Regions from separate parts of the Homo sapiens genome. Here regions 1, 2, 3 and 5 are each linked to region 4. Evidence: promoter capture Hi-C in 16 types of primary human blood cells and fetal thymus (Javierre and others, 2016). All regions are on one chromosome and are shown on one strand. Each heading gives the region's core, a stretch centred on a gene start or on the middle of the fragment in contact. The rest is flanking DNA. Distances are from core to core; before and after follow the strand shown. Region 1 overlaps MAPKBP1 (mitogen-activated protein kinase binding protein 1). Region 2 overlaps MAPKBP1 (mitogen-activated protein kinase binding protein 1). Region 3 overlaps SPTBN5 (spectrin beta, non-erythrocytic 5). Region 4 holds the start of LTK (leukocyte receptor tyrosine kinase). Region 5 holds the start of PLA2G4B (phospholipase A2 group IVB).

Region 1 (2,700 bases), core at 87-2,586, 300 kb before region 4:
TGCAGTGGGCCACTGTGGTCTGTGGGCAGAGTGGCTCAGCTCAGCAAGGCCACCTGCCCACTCAGTCTTCTCTCCTCCCCACCCATCAACAGCCACCTGCCAAGAGGAGGGACCGGCCAAGGCAGGGGCAAGGGAAAAGCCGCCCAGCTGCCCTGTTCTGAGCCCCTCAGCCCTGTCCAGCCAGGGATTAGGAACCGAGGATTCTTCTAGGCACCAGAGGATCCAGTAGGAAAAGCCCAGTGAAGAGAAAGAAATAGCATGAGAAAGAGAGGAAGGTGCAGGCACCACTTACTGTGAAGCTGTCTATGTTCTGAGCGGAAGAGGAAAGCAGGGGAAAGAGACAGAAAGAGCAGAGAGGAGGCAGTTATACAGATCACCAAGGGCTGGAAATGGGCCAAGCTCTAGCTCCCCCAAGCTTCGTTCTCCTGGGATCTCCCGTATGCACAAGGGACCAGCCCCTAGTCTGAAGCCCTGGGCACTAGTTCTCCCCTGAGCTGAGACATGAGCAGACCCTACCCCTGGGGACGGAGGTACTTACCCTCAGCTCCACCCACTTGTCCAAAAGCCTTCGATCACTGAACTCGCACAGCAGCCCTGAGGACGTGATGCAGAAGGTACTGTCCGCCTTTTTTCCTCTGCCACAGGCCACATCAGTGAATAGGTTGTTCCGTAGCTCTCCCAGCAGCCCTGAGCGGCCCAGCAAGGGCACAGTGGCATTCACCTGTGGAGGCACACCACTGTTACACCCCCATCCACCCCAGAGCCTGCCCCTGGAAACTGGGCCCTAGGAGAGTACAGGGGACGCCTCCAGCACCTCCTTGCTCTTTGGGCCTACTCCTCAGCCCAGACAGCATCTGGCTCATCCAAAACTTCTGCATGACTGCTGGGAATGCAGAGAGAGGCCCAAGTGGGGCAGAGTCTCCTGGGTTGGGCTGGGCAGGCCCTGCCAGGGGCCTTGGTGGCTACTCCCAGCTTCAGCACCTCACCTTTGAGGTCTTGCTGTCATCGAGATACCAGAATTTGATGTGTCGGTTGCCTGCAGTGACAAAGTAGCTGCAATCCTCAGAGAAGGACACTGCTGTCACCCGACTGGACACCTTGTTGGAGGCCACCACAATGTTTTTCTGGAGGGGATGCCAAAGGAAGAATCAAGGCTCTGTCTCTTGGAGCTAAGAAGACAGTGACTCAGAGAATGGAGGAGAATTAGAATTTGTACTTGACAAAGTGTTTCTTTCCAGAATTTACTGGCCAGAAAAAGAGGGGTAGGGAAATAATCCCTTTCTAGAGGAGCTGAAAAGATTCGTTTCCTGCAGAAGTCTTTGAAGGCATAAAGCTAGCCCCTTCAACCAACATGCTTGGCCACACAGTTGCTCTTTTCTGCTTCAAATAACTTTCTAGAATGAGAATGGTTCAGTGGGGTGGAATGGAGCAGTGCAGGTCAGCAGTCTCTTGCCTCCCCAGCTGACACTTGACCCCTGTGAGGCTGCCAGGCCACCCCACCCAGCCACTCACCTTCCAGGCCCACACGTTGACGATCATGTCATGCTGGTAGCCCACAGAGACAATGTACTTGGCGCTAGGAGAGAAGGCCACACAAGCCACACCATACTTGTGCTCCTGCAGCTCGGCCACCTGGCTGTGCTCTGCCACGTCCCAAACCCGCACGGCAGGCATGTGCCCACTCTGCAGGGAGGCAAGAACTGGAAGTGAGTTCTTGACTTCTCCACAGGCATACAGCCCCACTTCGTCTTCCAGAGCGGGGCCCTCGCCTCCTCAGCTACTAGATACCATCACTTCCCCAGCCAAAAGTCAGGGCAGGGTATAGAGGAAATATGATAAAGATCTGAGGGCAACAGTGATTACCAGGAAGAAAGTGGCCCCGGATTTTAGTCAGCATCTCTGGGTGGCCGTCTGTACTTCAGGTTGTTCAAAGCTCCCTGAATGGTTCTGATGGGCAGCCGGCATTGAGAGCCACTACCACTCAGGTCTATTTCTGCCCCTAGTAAGACTACGCCGCCAGGACAGAAGCGTTCCTCCTGAGCCCAGCAGGGGGCCCCCGGGGGTAAGGAATAGTTAAGGCAGTGGTTTCCAAAGCACGCTTCCTTCACCAGCAGGATCAGCACTCTCTGGGAACTTGTTACAAATGCACATTTCAGACTCCCATCCCAGACCTACAGAATCAGAAACTCTGAGGACCAGGCTAGTGATGTGTGCTTTCACAAGCCCTCCAAGTGATTCTGATGTACACTAAAGCTTGAGAACCACTATTTTAAGGTATAGCGAAAACCAGGATTTGGTGTCTGTTTCAGAAGCCAAAGTGACAGCAGGCCTAGGACCGCAGCTCTCTGCGGAGGCCAGGACACCTGCCCTCTTTACAGTACTGCCAGCCCTCTTCCTCACTCACCTCTCCAGTGACCAAGTACTTGCCATCAGGGGAGAAGGCAAGGGCAGTGATGGTTTTCCTGCAAGAGATGGGGCAGGCTCAGAGGGGCACTGGCAGCCTGGCCTAAGCCTAGCCCCCTCCCAGCCTCTCAAAAGGTGAGACCAGCAGACACCAATGGCACATGTGGCACTTCCCCATCTGGCTTTAGGACCCAACCAGGTCCCAGCCCCCAGAGCCATAGAGACTCTAGACAGTGCCCTTCTCATAGCTCCCAGAAGGAAGAGGTATCCTGAGGACCCCAGCCCATTTACCTGGAA
Region 2 (2,795 bases), core at 266-2,765, 270 kb before region 4:
CTATCCATACTGTAAACTCATTCTTCTGTTAAGTGTCCTTCAAAACCAGAGGAAAATAATGTGACCAATGAAGAAGCACTGGACCTGTTGCTATAACTGTTGAAAGGAAGGAAGGAAGGATTTGGAAAATCTGGACATTCAAAAATACCAACGCTAAAAATCCACACTACCCAGTCTGGCTGTCATACTCACTTTTATTTCTTGCCTTCCTCACCAACTTTTTTTTTTTTTTTTAAGGTAACAGAAGTTAAAGTAAAATCCACAAATGGGGTAATAAACACCCAAGAAGGTAGGCAGGTCTCATTCTATACCTCTACTGAGAATTGCTATGAAAAGGAAGCTGCCAGAAAACCTGGCTTTGTCCTGCATTAAACAATGGAGCCCAGAGGAGACGCTTAGCCTGGAGCAGTGGGAACATGAAGTATAATATAACAAATCCTTCTGAAAACACTGTAGCTTTATTTCTTTAACAACACTGCAGTCTGAACATGAAGTAAAACCAACGGATACTCTGAGGATGAGTGGGACAGACCATGTGCTCAGAGAAGCTTAGTTTGAATAAACATAGCCCCAATTTCAAACCTTGGACTGTTTTCTCCAAACAAAGGGTCAGTGATAACAGCATCAAGCCCAACTTCAGACTCAGAGGGTTGGTGGGGAGGTTACAGATGTCAGGCTGAAGCCTCATTTCTACCTGTTTTTTCATCAGTCAAGAAATGAAAATACACAGGTGACAAATGAAAGACATTCAAAATACCAGCAGGAAATAAGACATTGACTCAAATCCAAGAAGGGAACCTGCCCTAAATTGCAAACTGAAAGAGAGAAAAACTTGGAAAGCAGTAGTGCTCTTCCACTTTGAAATGAGTGAGGCCAAGTAGGTGAGAGGAGGTTTCGAAAGACAACTCCCAGCCTGAAGAGGCTGGGCTATTTTTAGACAGTAAATGAAGAGGTGTTGGGTCCAGGGAGAGAAGCATCCTCTCTCTCCAGTGAGAATCACTTTGAAGGCTGAGGGCAGCTGCAGGCACCGGAAGGAGGGATGAAATGGTGATCAAAGAAACAAAACTAGGAGAACATTGACATTTTTCATTGTATACCACCTGTTGTGAGGATCTCAAGACACTTCACAAGCCTTATTTCAAGAGACCTCAGAGACAGAAAATTCAACAAGAGCTTTGAAGGTCATTCACAAAGGCTGGTGAGGGGCATAGCTGCTGGCCACAGGGACATCCACTCTTAGTCATCTATTCTATGTGGAGAACTCAGAGCGTGTGTATTGAACACTAAGAAATGACTGGAGCCTGGCGCAGAGGCAAGCACCACTAGTCCCAGCTACTCAGAAAGGCAGGGGCTGGGCATGGTGGCTCATGCCTGTAATCCCAGCACTTTGGGAGGCTGTGGCAGGAGGAGCCCTTGAGGCCAGAAGTTTGAGACCAGCCTGAGCAACATCGTAAGACTCTGTCTCTACAAAAAACAAAAATAACTGGCCGGGCGTGGTGGCTCATACCTGTAATCCCAGCACTTTGGGAGGCTGAGGCAGGCAGATCACGAGGTCAGGAGTTTGAGACCAGCCTGACCAACATGGTGAAACACCGTTTCTACTAAAAATAAAAAAATTAGCCCGGCGTGGTGGCACGCGCCTGTAATCCCAGCTACTCAGGAGGCTGAGGCAGGAGAATCGCTTGAACCCGGGAGGCAGAGTTTGCAGTGAGCCGAGATCACGCCACTGTACTCCAGCCTGGGCAACAGAGCAAGACTCCGTCTCGAAAAAAATGAGTATGTTTCCCCAATACCAAATCATATATGCGTTCAAACACTGAGCAAAAGCTGAAATTAGAGTATTGCCACTTTTTCTCCTTCATGAAACCCACCCAACCAAACTCTTCTTAGAGTCACTTCTCAAAAGGCTCGAAGTACCACCACACAACTATACAGGAAAAAAACTTGGGGAAACAAATAGAGAAAGAAGAATTAGATTTACAATTAAAAAAACACAACTAGAAGAAAGTCATCTTACCCATTGTTTCCAGAAGGAATAATATAACCTAGATCAGATTAATGGCTCTTAAGGAGGAGGACGATCTCAATACCTCCTTCAGTTACTTTTTAAAAATCTAGCAACCCTCCAGCACAGACAATCCTTTTGTAACCCTAACTTAAATCTTGCCTGCTGGGCTTTGGTCCATTTCTATCCTTTGTCCTTGAAAACAAGCCCAGCTCCCTCCACATAAAAATCTTTCAGAAACTTTCAGAGGAGGAGGGTTAGCTATCAAGAACACATACATTTGCTTCTTAAGGAAAACACAGCCCAACTTAGAGATGAGAGGCAGGAAATGACAAGTCTACAGGATTTGAACTTGGGTATTTACTGATAACTTCAAGTCACACTTCACCAAGACTAAGCTGATTTAGCATAAAACTTTAAATCAGTCTTTTCCAATGTACTCCACTGAAGAGACTCCCCTCCCTCTGAAAAAGCTTAATAAAAATCTCAGCACTCATCTACTCTTTGATGTAACTTAAATCTCCACCTCCACTGGCTCTCTCACACCAGCTTTTAGCCATATTTTTAACTAGGTCTCCCCTGAATTAAGAACCCTTTACTGAGCACTGCTTTCTGCATACGTGGACTTCTTCTCTCTTATGTTCTTCACACCTAATTAGGCTGCATCTCTACTTCTTTGTCACCATTTTATTAATCGTAGTTTTGATCTCTCTTCTAAAGAGGTCATAAATTCCTCCTGATTATTTTATTCACCTGGATGTCCAAGTTTATCCCGCACTATATTTGACAT
Region 3 (2,700 bases), core at 116-2,615, 380 kb before region 4:
TGGAGAAGGAGGGAGGAGGCCTCAGCAAATGGGGGGAGGCAGAGTCACCTGAAAGAAAGGGACAGGCTAAGGAGATGGGCACTAAAAGGAGGCCGGAGCTCCAGGGACAGAGGGACCCTCATGGCCAGGGTGAGGGGCTGGTGCAGGGGTGGGGTGGGGCAAAGGGATCATTGGAAACCGGGAACTGTGAAGGCCAAGGGCTCCTGGAGGTGGCTGTCCCTGGAGGCTGTGAAGTCACTGAGCTGGGCCTGGCTGGATGGAGCCTGACTGTGCGTGCCTATCACTATATCCTGGAGTGGAGCTTACATCCAGCCTCCTGGGGTGTGTTGGAGGAAAGCCAGGGAGGGGAGAAGCCCAAGCAAAGGGAATGGGAGTGACTGCTGTCCTGAGCAGGTGCAAGAGCAGAACGCTGCCAGCTGCAGAATGCTGGGCCCTAGTTGATCCAGGGACAATGACCCTGTGAGCCAGTCATCTCCCCTCCAGGAACTGGGGAAGGGTGTAAGCCCCACAGCCTTTGTCAGAGGTGTTGCAGCTCTCCCCAAGCTTTAATATACAGCATGTCACTGATACCTGTGAGGGTGACATCCTTGTCTCCATACACATAGGAGGCAACTGTGGTCTAGAAAGGATGACGGAGTTGCCGCAAACACACAGGGAATGTGTGGCAGAATGAGGGATGCATTCGCTTATGGAGATGCTCCCATGCCCTGGGCATTCTATGCAGGCGCTGGGCTCCACTAAGCAAAGCCCAGACCCCCACCTCAAGGCACCTGGCTTCAAAGGGAGACAGATTCATTGAACCCAGATCAGCGGTGTGCTGGTAAACGTTTAACAAATGATTCTCTGGGGGAAATAAAAACTCCAGTGTGCTGTATTCGCTGATCCTATGGCGTTAATACCCCCCATCACGGTGAGTTTAAGCCACCAGCGTGACATCGCTCAATAGGAAGTCAGGAGGATAGGCTCTCAGGAGCTGGGAGGAGCAGACAAACACCCCACTCACCAGAGGCTCCAACTCTAAGCCAAGGTGATTGACATGGCAGGTGGAATCCACCCCAGGAGCATGGGTGGGATCCTTTAGAGGCCAGCCAGATATACCAAAGTTTACCTAGGGGGACACCCAGGATTGCAGCTCCTCCCACAGGGCTAGTAGTGGCCGGCTGAAGCCAGTTGCCCTTCAGGTCTTATGGAAAGTCTCACTCCTTTTCTTTCTCCATTCAGTACTTACTGATCGATTGCCTGCTGTGTGCCACTCCCCTAGGATACACCAGAAAACAAAGCCAAGATCCTCACTTGAGCAGGGCAAGGGGATCGAGAGTGTGTATTTGGGTGGGAGAAATAGTCCTTAAGTTTCTGTGTTAAATAAAGTGGTCAGGCTAGGCAACATCTGAGTGAAGAGTTAAAGGCAGGGAGGTGAATAGCCATGCAGATACCTGGGAGAATACTTTCAGACAGCAGGCACGGCCCTGCAAAGGCCTGAAGTCCTGTGCTTAGAATCCCATGGAACTATAAGAATCCCATGGGCCTTGGAGCTATGTGATTCCACAGGGTGGAAGATGGAGCCACAGGGGGCTGGGGGCCAGATCCTGCAGGGCTTCTCCCCTTGACTCACCCATCCTCCCTGTCCAAATGGCAGGATGTAGGGCAGAGGAGTCTCAACTTTGGTGTACCTAAGAGCCACCCAAGGTGTTGTTCAAGTGCAAATTCCCAGGCTCTGGCCCAAGACAGTCTGACTGGGTGGAGCCTGGGAGTCTGGATTTATAGCTGGCCCTGTTGGAGCCGGAACAGAAGAAGAGGGCTGAGATTTGGGTGTGAGCCCAGGGACCCAGCCACCCCCTGAAGATCCCAGGACACCCTGGGAGATGGAGGCAGACAGTTGCTATTGTCTGTTGGGCTCACACATTGACTGTTATGACCCCTCATTTCCAAACCCTGCAGCTGAACCACTGATCTTGGCCCAGGTCTACCTGTAGCCCACACACAGGGAGTCCTCCTGCTCTGAGGGCCCAGCCCAGTTCACCAGGTTGGGGCTTCACCCAGGTGGGCTTGAGGCCATGGCTCCAACCAGGCAGGAAGCCTTTGCTTTCCTGGACTTATCCCCTGCCTGCTTCTCCCTGAGGGAACTCCCAGCTGGGGCAGGATAGATTCCAGGATGCTCCCATCCCGCAGCTGGCCCCCTAAGCTTTTGGTGACTGAGTCCTCTCTGGACATGGGCTTCATGGCTTAGCCCATCCAACTGTGCCCACAGGTGCCAGTACCACTCATCGGGCCAGAGAACATCGTGGACGGAGACCAGACACTCATCCTGGGACTCATCTGGGTCATCATTCTGCGTTTCCAGATCTCCCACATCTCCTTGGACAAGGTATGGCTCAGTCCCCAGTACCCAGCACCTGGTGACCCAGCCCAGCCCTGGCCTCACCTCAGACCCCTGGGGATTCATAAGTTCCACACAACTTTTATGATCCCCATAGGAGATCCTGGAAACTGCAAAGTCCATATTCACTCTCCAACCATGGGTGAAGAACCCAGGATACCAGAGATATTGTAACATTGTAATATGCTAAAGTGAGGGCCAGGGCCATGGGCTTCAAACCAGGTCTGGGCAAGTCATTCACTAGTGGGGGGTTCAGGGTCACTGCCCAGCACCCACTTTCACCCCTGTGTGGTGCTCCCCACTTGGCACTGAGGCTCTGTAAC
Region 4 (2,796 bases), core at 70-2,569:
GCCTCCCAAAGTGCTGGGATTACAGGTGTAAGCCACCACGCCTGGCTGAGACCAGACTTTTTACAAAATCACTGTTCTGTTTACACCTTGAATTATACTCAGACTTTACCAAGTAGCTAACTACTATAACTTCTCTTTTGAAGTATTTTGTATTAAACATAGGTCTCAGACTTTCAAGTTAGGATTTTTTTTTTTTTTTTTTTTTTGAGATGGGGCTTTGCTCTTGTTGCCCAGGCTGGAGTGCAATGGTGCGATCTCGTCTCTGCAACCTCTGCCTCCCAGGTTCAAGCCATTCTCCTGCCTCAGCCTCCAGAGTAGCTGGGATTACAGGCGTGCGCTACCACGTGTGTCTGATTTTGTATTTTTAGTAGAGACGGGATTTTGCCATGATGGTCTAGCTAGTCTCGAACTCCTGACCTCAGGTGATCTGCCCGCCTCAGCCTCCCAAAGTGCTAGGATTACAGGCATGAACCACCGCACCCGGCAAATGATCATTTAAGCAAATGATCGAAGACTCAAGACACAAAACTACCTGAAGGGAGTGGCTCCCACATTTGTAGGGTACCTTACAGAGCAATTTCCCTTCATATGATTTTGCAGGTGGTGGGGAAACTCTCAGGGCAGTTGTGGCCTGTGCTACATCACCCATTGACCAGAGGTGCCAGTACTAGTGCTCAAGATCAATCGATCGATCGGTCTACCTACCTATCATCTATTGACCTTCAGTGCTACTAAAAACACTCGGATCTTCTAACGTCTGGTCCAGTCTTTCACCCCATCACAGTGAGAGGCTGTGCACAGGGGTAACACAGGCAACGGAATTATATGAGGCAAACACAGAGATCCAGGTTTCTGGGAGTAGCAATGAGGTTCAGCCTTGCAGTCACAAAGGCACCACTAAAAGGCACAAGTAATGGCAGGTAATGAGGCCTTACTTGGAGCAGTTTAGAGTACTTCCCACGTGTGGTGACGCATGCCACACACTCACCACCACCACCACTGCCACAAATGAAGTGCACACTCCACTGCTCCTGTCCTCAGGAACCTGGAAGCCCCCACCTGGTGTCCGAGGTGTGGCTCCCACTTTAAGCGTGGGGCACCTCCTCTCCGGCCTCAAACCTACCGGAGCTCCCAGCAGGCTGCGGCACATCTGACGGCTGGAAACTAGAACCCCTGGGTGGGGACTCCTTAAGGCTCCTCCCGGAAGCGTAGGGACCTCGCTGCCCACACGCCCCTCCCTTTCCTCCTCTGGCGTCCTGGGGTCTGAGGTGGGCGTGGCCAGACCAGCTTTAGGTCCGGGGAGTGTCTCGCCAGCGGCAGCACACCCCTGTAAGTGGTGGCCAGGGCTGCCGTGGCAAAATGAGCTGTCAACTTTAGGTTGACAGGGGTGTGGCCGCGACCGCAAGGGCTTTTGTTGCCGGGTGGACCCAACAGGGATGGGCTGCTGGGGACAGCTGCTGGTGTGGTTCGGAGCCGCGGGTAAGTGCTATCTGGCGGTCAGGGGACCGTCCAGCCTGAGGCACTTTCCTAGGCTTGGGGGTGGCCGGTCAACAGGCCAGGTGTCAGTGGTTCCTCCAGAGGCCTCGAACTCTCACAGCCAAATTTCTCCGGTCCGTGCTTCTGGAGTGCGGGCCGAGAAGCGCCAAGTGCGTGCGAATCCCAGAGTCTGGATCACGCAGCTTGGGAAGGAGGAACATTCTTTGGGGTCTCAGCACCGCCTTGGGGCGGGGCCACCAATCTAAGTTGAGGAAAGCATTGGGGAGGCTGCAGGACCAAATTCATTGCGGCCCCTAAGTTATTCACTGGGAAAGGCGCTCGAGGAGAGAAACTGGCAGACCTATCAGCGCGCACCCGCGGGGCTTCTGCGACCGGAGTCGGGTAGTGGCTTCCAGGCTGAGAGCGCGGCTGGGCCGGGTGACGGGTGTGGCCGCGACCGCAAGGGCAGCTGTTGCGGGGTTCTCTCTTTCTTTCATATCCTATTTCCACCCGCCTTAACGTCCTGCGCCTTCTCCCAACACCTTTCAGGCGCCATTCTCTGCTCTAGCCCGGGGTCCCAGGAGACTTTTCTGCGGTCCTCGCCCCTGCCGCTGGCAAGTCCCAGCCCCCGGGACCCGAAAGTCAGCGCCCCGCCTAGTATCTTGGAGCCAGCCTCCCCGCTGAATTCTCCGGGTGAGCTTTAGACGCCTCCTTCCTCTTTCGCTCACCATACCAGACCCCTCTGGCCCAGCCAGGGGCTCGACGACCCTTGCCTCGCTCCTTGCTCTCAGGCACCGAGGGGTCTTGGCTGTTTTCTACCTGCGGGGCCAGCGGCCGGCATGGGCCCACACAGACACAATGTGACGGGGCGTACGCGGGGACCAGCGTGGTGGTGACCGTGGGGGCCGCCGGGCAGCTGAGAGGCGTGCAGCTGTGGCGCGTGCCGGGCCCTGGCCAGTATCTGTAAGTGCACGGCGGAGGTAGGGTGGACAGTGACCTGCTAGTTGGAGGTTTCACCCTCAGGGTAACGAAGTCCACGTGCGCACCGACTTGCGTCTTGGACTATTCCGCGGGGAGGTCCACCTTGAGTGCCCTTCAAGGTGGCAGTAGTCGCCACCGAGTTAGCCCTTACCCGGAACCTCTTACACCGAGCGGAAGGCCCCCAACCAGGGCGGCGCCAAGGGGTGCTTGAGCCTCCCCACATTTCCACGAACCCTCCTGAAATAAGTGTAATATCTGATTTTTCGGTGTGCAAACCTACCCTTCCCATCCCGTCAGAGTCGATTGCAGCCTCCAAGTCCCTCAGATAAAAAATAATTC
Region 5 (2,700 bases), core at 178-2,677, 330 kb before region 4:
CCTCCCTCAGCCCAGCACAGGGGCCAGGGCGGTGCGCACTCACCTAGGTCCTTAGAGGGTAGGCGATGGGCCTGCAGGACACGAACCGTGAGCAGGCAGGTCCTGGACACCTCTGCCTGCAGAGGTGGGAGAGGGGAGACCTGCTACGGGCCGATGAAGCCAAGGGTGACAGGGGCCACAAAGGAGGCTGGAGCAGTGCCTCAAGGCCTAATCCTGAACCCCAGGCCCATCCTCCATCTCATCAGAATCCTGAATCAACAAGAGGAGACATGATATCTCCATCATGACGCCTGCCAGCACTTACACAATGCTCTGCGCCGGCTCTGGGCCAAGGGCTTTGCATACATTAACTCATTTATCGCACAACCACCTTATGCACAGATACTATTTACGATGGCCCACTCCACAAGGAAACTGAGGCACAGAGAAGCAGTCACTTGCCTGAGGTCCACAATTGGGGTTGGAGCCCGGGCAGGCTGGCTCCAGATTTATGCCTCACACAGACCTGCTTCCACCTTCTCGGGCTAGTATCCTTTAGGCTCTCCACCCCACATCCCCAGCCCACACCCCAGCTAAGCAGCTTTCCGGCTGGTCTTGGGTGGCAGGGGACATAAGCTATCGAGGGAGGGGAAGTAGCACATCAGGGCCTTGGGCCCCAGGCTGAGCTGCTCTCGTACCCTCCCTCCACCCTGGTCAGAAGAGCATCCTGGAAATGGGCTCTCTCCTGGGCAGGGGAGGCGGCTCCTAGCTCAGACCCCTCACAGGCTGTCATGTCCTCCAGGTCCTGCCAGGTCAGGCTGAAGATGGTCCCCCGGTAGCTCCCTCCAAACCCATGCCCCTGGTTCTGGGAATGCAGCCTGGCAGGCGCACCGGGACCAGGGAAGCCTGTGCCAACTGCTTCCTTTCGGCCTTCCACCTGCCTCCACAAGGACCCTAACAGGTCAAGTCCAGGGAGCAACCAGGTCCAGGGCAGTGCTGGAGGGCCTCATCCACCAGGGTCAGCCCAGGGCCCTCACACTCCAGGCAACTGAGTCAGAGGAGCATGGAGGAGCCACTTGCTTCCAGGGCCTCAGGGCGGCAGCTGGGAGCCTCTGAGTCTCCAGGGCCCAAATCTGTGGTGCCAGGGAGCTCTGCCAGGAGCCCGTTCCCAGGACAGAAAACACTCAGGACGGATCCCTCATCCCCAAGCCTCCTCCTCCCCTGGCTTCTGCCCGCTACCCTGGTCTTGTGGTCAATAAACTCCCCTCCCTACCCCTGGAGAAGACCACAGCTCCCATAAGAAACATATTAACTAGGCCCCAGGTAGAGACCAGGGGTCCCAGTAGGGACCCAGGGCCCTGCCAGGCCTTACCACAGCCATGAGACTGAGTCCTCAGGAGCAGGAATGATGGGGCAGTGGCCACAGGATCAAGGACTGTCAGCTTTCTAACCCAGAGCCAGGGATGTGATGTCCCAATTGGTCCCAAGTCCCTCCTACCCGCCGCCTCTGCTCCACCTAAGCTCCACACCCACTCCTGAACCAGCCACCTGTCCAGGAAATGAGGCACCCTAAGCCTATACTAGAGCTCCTGATACCTCTGTGGCACTCGCCAGCCTTTACCAGCTGGGCCTGCCCCACCCAGCCCTGCAATCCCAGCCTGGAGAGCTTGCTGCCAGGGGCTGAGCAGAAGGAAAGCAGGGGTGAGTCCCAGAACAGCAGCCAAGGGAAGAGTGGAGTTCCCTGTCACAGGCCTTTCGCAACTCTGGCACCTGTTGGACAGGAATGCCCAGTCTTGATGGCAGGGATCCATCAATCTGAGATGAACACCCGGGCCCCCTCACGACAGGCAGGGGAGTGGCTGTCACATAAAACAGCCCTTCAAAGCTAGGTGCTGAGTGGCCAGGGATGAGGCCTGTGGGTTGGCACTCAGGGGCAGGGGGTTCTTCTGCCTCCAGGGCATGGTTTGTGGGGGGGTCAGCGTGTGGAGACCAACTCTTTCCTCAGAGGGACAGCCCCAGGAGAGGCGGGGGCTTCCGTCCCTTCCTGCCTGTGCCTGTTATGGGAGAAACAGGGGTTATCCCCAGGGCACCAGGTCCCACCTGCTGCCCCTGAACTGGGGGAGGACAGTAACCATAGGAGAGCTAGGAATAGCTCTCAAGGTCCTGGGCAAAGAGGTCCGGACCAGAGAGCTACAAGACTCAGGTCTGCTTGCTTGTCCCAGGGAGGGGCTGCGGTGACTCTCATGGACAGCGGGACTTGGGCAGCTGACGGCTCTTTGGGCCCAGGCTGGGATCCAGCCCTCACCCCCAGTGAAGGTCACCCTGAAGTTTTTACCTGAACCTTCAGGCCCTCCTTAGACCACAGAAGGCAACTTCAAGAGGGAGGATCAGAACATACGACTCATAAGCCAGGCGCAGCAGCTCACACCTGTAATCCCAGCACTTTTGGGAGGCCGAGGCAGGTGGATCACGAGGTCAGGAGATCAAGACCATACTGGCTAACACGGTGAAACCCCGTCTCTACTAAAAATACAAAAAAATTAGCCGGGCATGGTGGCACGCACCTGTAGTCCCAGCTACTTGGGAGGCTGAGGCAGAATAGTGTGAACCTGGGAGGCGGAGCTTGCAGTGAGCTGACATCACACCACTGCACTCCAGCCTGGGTGACAGAGCGAGACCCCATCTTAAAAAAAAAAAAAAAAGGACATACGACTCACAGCT

What was found. The method cuts DNA at HindIII sites, captures the fragments that hold promoters and counts their contacts. A CHiCAGO score of 5 or more calls a contact.
Region 1: a contact is called between a fragment that was not itself captured here and the fragment with the promoter of LTK in region 4, in 1 of 17 cell types (endothelial precursors). The highest score is 5.4, in endothelial precursors.
Region 2: a fragment that was not itself captured here is called in contact with the fragment with the promoter of LTK in region 4 in 1 of 17 cell types (M1 macrophages); the score reaches 5.3 in M1 macrophages.
Region 3: a contact is called between a fragment that was not itself captured here and the fragment with the promoter of LTK in region 4, in 1 of 17 cell types (erythroblasts). The highest score is 5.0, in erythroblasts.
Region 5: the fragment with the promoter of PLA2G4B here is called in contact with the fragment with the promoter of LTK in region 4 in 1 of 17 cell types (erythroblasts); the score reaches 5.8 in erythroblasts.

The regions. Positions count from the first base shown.
Region 1 is chr15:41,810,940-41,813,639 of GRCh38, reverse strand. MAPKBP1 (mitogen-activated protein kinase binding protein 1) reads right to left here. Exons shown (of 31, transcript NM_014994.3): 4 at 2,695-2,700; 5 at 2,405-2,462; 6 at 1,513-1,683; 7 at 987-1,124; 8 at 539-721; 9 at 1-19. Among named protein-coding and RNA genes, the nearest start is that of JMJD7, 16 kb to the left of the region's middle. The HindIII fragment of the contact is 1,838 bases long and covers 418-2,255 here.
Region 2 is chr15:41,778,199-41,780,993 of GRCh38, reverse strand. The region is part of intron 2 of MAPKBP1 (mitogen-activated protein kinase binding protein 1); the gene reads right to left. Among named protein-coding and RNA genes, the nearest start is that of MAPKBP1, 5.1 kb to the right of the region's middle. The HindIII fragment of the contact is 1,930 bases long and covers 551-2,480 here.
Region 3 is chr15:41,889,754-41,892,453 of GRCh38, reverse strand. SPTBN5 (spectrin beta, non-erythrocytic 5) reads left to right here. Exons shown (of 68, transcript NM_016642.4): 4 at 2,249-2,365. Among named protein-coding and RNA genes, the nearest start is that of SPTBN5, 2.9 kb to the left of the region's middle. RefSeq lists an enhancer at 810-1,685. The HindIII fragment of the contact is 1,639 bases long and covers 546-2,184 here.
Region 4 is chr15:41,512,350-41,515,145 of GRCh38, reverse strand. LTK (leukocyte receptor tyrosine kinase) reads left to right here and starts at 1,319. Exons shown (of 20, transcript NM_002344.6): 1 at 1,319-1,479; 2 at 2,026-2,169; 3 at 2,268-2,439. The coding sequence starts at 1,437. RefSeq lists a silencer at 1,954-2,033 and an enhancer at 1,740-2,487. The HindIII fragment of the contact is 8,992 bases long and covers 1-2,796 here.
Region 5 is chr15:41,837,574-41,840,273 of GRCh38, reverse strand. PLA2G4B (phospholipase A2 group IVB) reads right to left here and starts at 1,427. Exons shown (of 20, transcript NM_001114633.2): 1 at 1,352-1,427; 2 at 44-116. The coding sequence starts at 1,360. It overlaps JMJD7-PLA2G4B (JMJD7-PLA2G4B readthrough), which reads right to left. Exons shown (of 25, transcript NM_005090.4): 7 at 44-116. It overlaps JMJD7 (jumonji domain containing 7), which reads right to left. Exons shown (of 8, transcript NM_001114632.2): 8 at 2,693-2,700. The HindIII fragment of the contact is 20,869 bases long and covers 1-2,700 here.